Regions from separate parts of the Homo sapiens genome. Here region 2 is linked to region 1. Evidence: promoter capture Hi-C in 16 types of primary human blood cells and fetal thymus (Javierre and others, 2016). All regions are on one chromosome and are shown on one strand. Each heading gives the region's core, a stretch centred on a gene start or on the middle of the fragment in contact. The rest is flanking DNA. Distances are from core to core; before and after follow the strand shown. Region 1 holds the start of MED27 (mediator complex subunit 27). Region 2 overlaps MED27 (mediator complex subunit 27).

The links. The method cuts DNA at HindIII sites, captures the fragments that hold promoters and counts their contacts. A CHiCAGO score of 5 or more calls a contact.
Region 2: a fragment that was not itself captured here is called in contact with the fragment with the promoter of MED27 in region 1 in 1 of 17 cell types (endothelial precursors); the score reaches 5.8 in endothelial precursors.

Annotation. Positions count from the first base shown.
Region 1 is chr9:132,077,495-132,082,089 of GRCh38, reverse strand. It overlaps MED27 (mediator complex subunit 27), which reads left to right and starts at 2,223. Exons shown (of 8, transcript NM_004269.4): 1 at 2,223-2,448; 2 at 4,504-4,595. The coding sequence starts at 2,246. RefSeq lists an enhancer at 2,047-2,326. The HindIII fragment of the contact is 6,112 bases long and covers 1-3,919 here.
Region 2 is chr9:131,877,514-131,881,611 of GRCh38, reverse strand. The region is part of intron 6 of MED27 (mediator complex subunit 27); the gene reads left to right. Among named protein-coding and RNA genes, the nearest start is that of RAPGEF1, 140 kb to the right of the region's middle. The HindIII fragment of the contact is 1,378 bases long and covers 1,340-2,717 here.

The DNA.
Region 1 (4,595 bases), core at 974-3,473:
TCAGCAAAAGAAGATCCTAGCTCACACATTGCCCTCAGTTGTCACAGCTCTTTGGTTTCCTTTAATCTGGAAGAATTTCTCAACCTTCATGTCTTTCGTGACACAGACATATATATATATATATATGTAATTTTTTTTTTTTTTTTTGAGACTGAGTCTTGCTCTTGTTGCCCAGGCTGGAGTGCAATGATGCACTCTTGGCTCACTGCAACCTCCACCTCCCAGGTTCAAGCAATTTTCCTGCCTCAGCCTCCCAAGTAGCTGGGATTACAGGTGCCCACCACCACGCCCAGTTAATTTTTTGTCTTTTTAGTAGAGATGGGGTTTCACCACGTTGGCCAGGCTGGTCTCGAACTCCTGACTTCAAATGATTCACCCACCTTGGCCTCCCAAAGTGCTGGGATTACAGGTGTGAGCCACAGTGTATGGCCTGACACAGATATTTCTTGAAAAAGTATAGGTCAGTCAGTTATTTTGTCACGTTTTTCAGTTTGAGTTCTATTGATGTCCTGATTAGATTCAGGTTATGCACTGCTGGCAAGAATATCATGGAGGTCATGTTGTGCTCTTTCCAGTGCATTGTATCAGGAGGTGCACAACATGTCCCGTCACTGGTGATGTTGACCTTGGCCTTTTGGTTAAGCTGGTGTCTGCCATGTTTCTCCACTGTGAAGTCACTATTAAGTCACTATCCATCCCCCCTTATGTTTACATTAATGAATTGTTTAAAATTTTTTGGTAAAATATACATAATATAAAATCAACCATTTTCACTGTTTCTAAGTGTCCAGTTCTGTGGCATTAAGTACAATCACATTGTTGTATGGCCATCACCACCATCCAGCTGTAAAACTTTTCCAAGTCTGTACTCTTTAAGTACAGACTTAAATATGGCCCTTTGCAATATTATGCTGAAATCTTCCTCTCTACAGCCTTCCTACAACTGGTTATTGTTATTGCCACTAGTTAACCAAGGAGGACTCTTGTCTTGGGTTGACATGAAGGTGAGTTGAAGGTCACAATCATGATCTGCCTCCTGCTCTCCTCTTCTCTGCTCCAAGCTATGCAACCCCAGCTCCTCTAAGGAAAGAACATGAGGACTTGGGCAGGTTCCCTTTAGTAAAAAGATAATAAATTTTCAGAAACCTGTCTATAGCCAACAGGACAAAGAGACATTGAATTTTTCCATAAAGCCAGATTTGGCCAACATTTTGTTGGTTTTATTTAAATCCCAAACCTTCTCTTTCTTCCACAACCTCTATGCTATGTATGTTATTTTCAGAGGTGTGTGTTCACTGTAAACCAGCCACCATTCTACTTTCTGTCTCTAACATTTTGACTACCCTAAACACCTCATATAAGTGGAGTCACACAGAATTTTGTTTTTTTGTGACTGGCTTATTTCACTTAGCATAATGTCTTCAAGTTTCCTCCAGGTAGCATATGTCAGAATTTTCTTGCTTAAGCCTGAAGAATTTTTCATTGTATGCCAGTATCACACTTTGTTTATTCATCAGTTTATGGACACTTGGGTTTCCCCTGCCTTTTGGCTATTTGGTGAATAATGCTGTTATGAACATGTGTACAGGTATTGAGTCCCTGCTTTCGCTTCTTTTGGGTATATGCCCAGAAGTGGAATCTCTGGATCATTATTTTCCTCTTCTTAATTAATAAGCATCTTGGGGGACGATACTTTGAGATTACCTAAAAAGCCTGTTATTTTTCTGACACTTTCACCCACTAGTTTTAGCATCCATCGATTTCTATCTGAATCAATTATTCTAATGGCTGTCAAATGGCAATTTTCTAATTCCATCACTCTTTCTGCATTTATGAGCTGGCATTCTATTGGAAAGAAGAAACTTTCCTTCTCCCCGCTTTATTTATGAATATGGACTCATTTTATTGAATGGGCTATGTTCCTTTCCTTTTTACACTATTGCTCTGAGCAATTCTTTTCCCTATGATTCCCCAGAGTGCAAGTTTGGGGAAATGCGGGAACTTTCTGTATTTCTTTGTCACCATTAAGCAAACCGGGAGTGCAACCTGACTTCCCCAAGTTGAGAAAAATCACTTTCCTGCCCATGCATTAGTTTAGCTCAAGGGGAAACCCTTTTTCGAAAGTGCTTTCTGGGTAGCCCCGCGCGAACTGCATTTCCCAGAGGTCTTCGGAGATACGTCATCAGCGAGCGCGGCTTTTTTGCTTGCGAAGCCGGCTTTGGAGAGCTGCTGTGGCGGCGGCAACATGGCGGACGTGATAAATGTCAGTGTGAACCTGGAGGCCTTTTCCCAGGCCATTAGTGCCATCCAGGCGCTGCGCTCCAGCGTGAGCAGGGTGTTCGACTGCCTGAAGGATGGGATGCGGAACAAGGAGACGCTGGAGGGCCGGGAGAAGGCCTTTATTGCGCACTTCCAGGACAACTTACATTCGGTCAACCGGGACCTCAAGTAGGTACCGGCTGAAGGGGCCGGGGTCGGGGACCGGCCCCGCTCCGACCCTGCCCCTACGTCGCTCGAGTCTTCCCAGGCAGGGGCTGTTCTCCGTTTCCCTTGATCCCTGTTCTTTCTCTTCTTGTTCTCCAAGCCTCTGCCTGTCCCTCAGGGACATCTTAACACCATCCCCGCTTTCTCGTCTTGCTTCTCCTGGCCTCCTGGTCCTGTTTGTCTTCCGCCATCCTCGACCTCTTCTGTGGCGGTTCCATTCCTAACAAGGAGGCATGCTTTTCCCATGAACTTCCACTTCTCTGAGCTTGGCAGGTTTCTCACCTGTAGGCCCTCTGTGCCCCATCACGTCTGATCCGAATGTAGTAATAGTACAGACAGGACCTGGTCAGTCGGCTCCAAACCCAAGTGCACCCGATCTGATTAGCCCCAATTCCCCGGCCCTGAACTTGGACTTCATCAGTTCCACCACCACCCACCCGCAACCACGACGGACCGGCCAGGCCTTGAGCTGTCTTCACCTTTTCCCCTAACCGCTCCCAAACCACCTGATCAGTTTCCTCACTCCCACTCCTGTGGGAGTTCCTTCCGCAGTAGAGACCTACTCTCTAATCTCTTAACCAGTTTAATTACTTATGCTTAACGCCCCTGCTTCTTAATTTGTAGTCTTTTAGGGTTAAGGATTCCACTTTTCCTCCTCTTCCTTACAAAGTACCTTCTTCACTTACACTTTTTAAGTGTTGTAAGAATTAAATGAGAGGATGTTTGTAAAGGGCCTGGCACATAGTAGGCACTTCTTGATTGCTTAGGTCCTGAACTTGCCTTCTGTTTTATAAGAGAGTCAGTCCTTCCCAGGAAGGTTAGAATTTCAGGATTTTTGCCTTTTACTTCTCAGAACTGACCTGAGTAGGGGAAAGCATTTGGTGAGCTAGTCATCCTTTGATTTCTGGACTGGTTGGATTTTTGTTTTTTCAACTTGGTCTCCTTAGTAACCAGATGGAAAGAGGAGGTAGGATGGAGGAGGAGGAGGAGGAGGTGGCCAAATGATGGGTGCCTTTTTGTTTTCCCCCTAAGTAGTTGCCGTAAATCACACAGCCCTCCTCAACGCCCACATCCGCTTGCTGTTCTCTGGCACCGCGCCGAGCACCAGTTAATACTTTCTCTGCTTCAGGGGATGCACTGGCTATTCTTCCCTATCTTCTGTTTTCTTTCCATTTTCTCTCCGAGTTACTTCCCTTTGTAATGTTCAGGATATTATAACCCTTCACCATTTTAAATAGAAACTTTAAGAGTGCTGACATTATCCTTTTGCCTTCTTAAATCTTTGTACAGTAGTGCCAAGAAGAAGGTGGCTGATGATTCCAAAATGAATGTGGCATAAGAAGCTGTTCCTAGAGAGTCTTTTGTTGGCAGTTTGGGACTGGCCCCTCAGAACGTACTCCTGGAATGTGCTCTTGTTGGCTCGCTTTCCCAAGCTTCTCTAGGGTTTTCCTGCTAGACTGAAGTGTGTTTGTTTGACACAGCCACCTCAGTGGTGTCTTCCCATTCCATTTGTTTATTTTATCTCTTCTTTGTTTTGTTAAGTTTTACCATCTGTGAAGCATCATGTACAAATCTATCCCTATGTGAATGATAAATAATCATCATTTAATCAGGTACTTGCTGTTCTGCCAAGTGTAATGATCTGCACGTGGGTCTGAAAACTCTTAGTGAGAGGCAGTGTTATACCACATTTCAAAATTCCAGAAAGTCTCCTCCCCACTGCAGGGATGAATTTGAGTTGTTAATTTCTGATTATGGGGGTCTTATTGATTCTACTGCCCTTACCTTTTTTTTCCTCCTTTGGAATGGCACCAGAAGCTCTGTTTTAAAGTCAGATAAACTCTCATTTAGGGTTTTTTTTTTTAAGTGTCCCAAGTATTTTTTAACCTTTCAAAAAGTATTTCTTCTTAAGGGACTTCTGATGGATGGTTTGAAGAGCAGTCTTTGATCCTGGGGGCTGGCTTTACCCTGGAGTGTAAATGGGCTTAGGTTTATTTGCCTTGTCTCTTTGCTTTTCAGTGAGCTGGAACGTCTGAGCAATCTGGTAGGCAAGCCATCTGAGAACCATCCTCTTCATAACAGTGGGCTGTTAAGCCTGGATCCTGTGCAGG
Region 2 (4,098 bases), core at 779-3,278, 200 kb after region 1:
ACTGTCTATTGCATCTTTGCAGCTTTTCTGTAAATCTAAAACTGCTCTAAAATAAAGTTTTAACAAAGAAAATCATAGCTTGATTCTTCTAACACCCTTTACCCAACTGAGCTCCCTGGAAATGTAATGAAGAAAATAGCCTCCCTCCTTTCCTCCCTCCCTCCTTCCTTCCCTCCCTTCCTCCCACTCTCTCTTCCTCCCTGGTCCCTGGGTCTGAAGCATAAAGGAAGGAAGGGTGTGGTTACGCACAGGCTTTAGTGCAGGGAAGCACATTTCTCATCTTAGTGTTCTTACCTAAGTCACCATACCAGAGGTATTTACTTGTTTCGCATGCAAAAAGTCTCAGCCTTCAATGCTAACGTTTTCCGTGCTGACTGTCCTTGTCATTTTTCCCCCAGTGGCTGGTTGAAAAATATTCTGAGGAGAAAGAATGCTGCTCATTATCCTTGTCTTGCTTTGCTTTAATAGTGAAGAACATTAAAATGGTCAGCTTTTCCCCTCAATCTGGTCCTTATCTTCATGTCCTCTGTGGTATTGCAATGAGTTCCCTCCTCCAGTCTCCACAAAAGGCCAATGATGACTTCTTGAGGGCTGTAAGCATTGCAGCTTGTAACTTGGTATTTAACAATGGTCCATTTCCATTCCAATACCCTTGATGAGGGAGGGGCTTGCACATGCTCACTTTTGCATGTTTTTTTTTTTTAATGTTCTTGTAGTATTAAGTATTTTTTAATGCAAGCAGAAAGTGTATTAGGAAGTTGTAAAATGTATAAAACACAGATTTGGTGAAGCATAGATTTAGAAAGACAGTACTGTATTTTTATCCTACCTCCCTTGAAAATAACCTGCCAGGCACTCTTTGTATTTATTTAAAATTACAAACACACTCTGAAGCAGAAGTGTTTAAAATTTGATATTAGTCTAGTTGGAGAGATTTAGGAGCATCCGCCAATTCCTTCCTTCCAGTCTGTGTAACACGTTTCAAGTAGTAAAAATTGATGAATTCTAAGGGATGGGAATTTTATCTCACTGGTGAGTGGCATATCATGTGTATTTGTGCAGAAGCCTTTCTGAGATTCCTTTATCATCGCTCCTTTCACCTATTATTAACTAAGTGGACTTAACCTCTGATATTGACCTGTACCAGATTAAAGAACCACAATTGGGAGAGGTGGTAGTGCCTTCTGATTACAACTAAAGGCAGATAACATTGAAGTCCTTTTTTTTCAGGGACAAGTAAGAATTAAATTAGTGAGTCCTCTCTCTTCCTAACTAAAATGTCTTCCATTTGCTGTCAAATGAAGGAAACATATTGGAAAATAATGTACAGAATTAAGCTTAATCCTTTATCAATAAAGCCTTCAACTAATCATCATCACACAGAATGAGTTTGGGATCTTGTTAGAAAAAAAAAAAGCCTGTTTCTGTATCACTGAGCTTGTGGGAGATGGCGGTAGAAAGCACGAAGCATGCGCGGTGTAGCCTCCATCCCAGGGCGGTGACTGGCGTGCCTATTTCGTCGTGTTCATCTCAGTGGCCAGCAGGTAGACCTCCCTGTGCCACTGCCAGGCCCTGCACTACGTGCAGAGGTGGGACCACGTTGTCCTTTGCAGATTCAGAGACCTGGCACAGTTTATGGGGTGACGTTAAGTATTTCAAACCTAAATCACCAAAAGAGAAGGATTCGGTGGCAACGTTTCTAAACTCCGCTTTTTAGGATTTGCTATTCCTCAAGATTCTATTTTCCTCCTGTCCACCCACTTATATATGGGGTGTCATGATTGATGTTGCTTGTAGTGTTTCCCAGAAAGACGCTGTTTGGGAGCACTGCGGCAGACATCTTCCACCTGCTCTGCCTGTTTGCACCCAGCCAAGTCGACTGGCGAGGGTGGGGTTCGTTCCCAGCATCATCCAGAAAAGCTCAGCCTGCAGCAGTGGCATGAAGTGCATTGGGGAGCAGCATGACATGCTGGAGGATGCTCCTTGGTCATCAAGAAGAGGAGATTGCTCAGGCTGAAGATAGTACCCAGATGTCCTGACAGTGGTGGGAGGTGCCACAGCTATGCCCACCTCTGAGATGGGAGTTCTGGGCCACCAGCAGCAGCTCACATGGCATTAATGGAGGAATTCTCCTCCTGCTCTAGCTGAGGTAGAACCGCAGAGCTCCCTCTCCTAGGCCTTCATTATGTGGTTGCAGTCACTGTGTTAGGCCTGTTTTCTTGCCCACAAGAAGCAGCTGTGGCCAGCCCAGAACGAGGGAAAGCAGAACTCGGAAAGCAGGAAGCCACGCCCCCCACCCGTGCCCACCCTGAGGTCTCCTTCAGTGTGACAGGGTAGGGGGATTGCCTTGCAGAGCCAAACCAAGCTAACACTCACCTTTTTATTTCTGGCAAACAATGTCAGGAGGTAGGAGAATGGAAGCATGCCCTTGTCACATTCTCTCAGGCCCGTGCCTGACCCGCTGGCTTACAGCCTGAGCACCTGAGCTTCTGTAGCAAATCCCACCACAGGAAGCAAAATTCTGCCTTCCTTTTGTCTGCAGATGTTCATGCCATCAGCAAGCCCTTTTCACTCTTCCTCATTAGACCCCTTACCCAAGTGTGGAAGTAGCAGAGGGCTGGGGACAGCTTGCTATGGGTCTATGGCTGCTAACAGGTTCCCATCATTTACTGTGGTCCCTGGAGGCTCCTTGCACTTGGTCCTAGGGTGAAGAAGCTTTTTATAGCCAGCAAGTCTCCAGCAGAGTAGATTCAGAGAATGGGACTTAGAAATGGGCGGGGTGGGGGCGGGTGACCATCTGAAAGGGCAGAATCACAAAGAGCCAGGAAAGGTTTCAAGCGTGTTCATATTTTTCTGACATTTAAACTCTGCAGGGGCAGCCACTGTTTTGTTCTTTAACCCCCTCATTTCAAAACTCTGTGCATTTTCATCCAGCAATTTAGGGAGAGTAAGAGCAGACCGACAGCTACTCACTGCATTGTCTTGCTAGGGTGGCTGGAGAGAGAGGTGGAGTGTGTGTACCACCCAGGTTAGGCAGGGGACATCAAGAGAGAGGCCAAGAGGGACCCACACACACTTTGCAGCTTTCTCATCAGAGGTAAGGGACAGCATGAAAGTAGCCCGCAGATGTCCAGCTCTCCATCCACAGTCATTGCAGAGGGATGAGTAACCCTTTCAGTTCTGCACCGTCTGAACTTTTAGCTGTGAGCAAATGGATTGTGCATGGTGGGTCATGTTCTGGGCAGGGTGCCGCTTGCTTCTTCATTCCTTTGTTCATTTATTAGTTGATTATTTTTATTTTATTTATTTATTTATTTATTTATTTATTTATTTATTTTTGTAATGGAGTCTCGCTCTGTTGCCCAGGCTGGAGTGCAGTGGTGTAATCTCAGCTCACTGCAACCTCCACTTCCCAGGTTCAAGCAATTCTCCTGCCTCAGCCCCTAAGTAGTTGGGATTACAGGCATGCGCTACCATACCCAGCTAATTTTTGTATTTTTGTAGAGACGGGGTTTCACCGTGTTGGCCAGGCTGGTCTTGAACTCCTGATCTCAGGTAATCCACCTGCCTCGGCCTCCCAAAGTGTTGGGATTATAGGCATGAGCCACCGCGCCCGGCCTGTTCATTCTTTTTAATATGCAAGACTGGCCCCTAACTGAGGCAGACTTGATCAAGGTCTGTTTACTCGGTGGCCACCAGGTGCTTTTCAGTAAAAGAGATTGAGTCAGCCCTAGAAGACTCAGTTCTCTGAAAAGTGGGTGGACACCTGATATTGCGTTGGTGGGTACGTGGAGTACCTAGCGTAAATTGACTACCAACCCCAATAGTATTCAAAAATCCTAACCTATCGCTCATTCCAACTCCTAGGGAAGGAAACTGTTTCAACATGGGATCATTCCCCAGGGATTGGAACCGTCACCCTCCTCTGAGTCAGGTTGTGCTGCACACCTTAGTTGGGTGTGTGGTGCCGCTGCAGTGTTTCACACCACTAAAGAGGCTCCATAAACAGTCATTACATTGTTTTATTTATTTATTTGAGACGGGGTCCCACTCTGTCGCCCAGACTAGAGTGCAGTGGTGTGGTCTCGGCTCACTGCA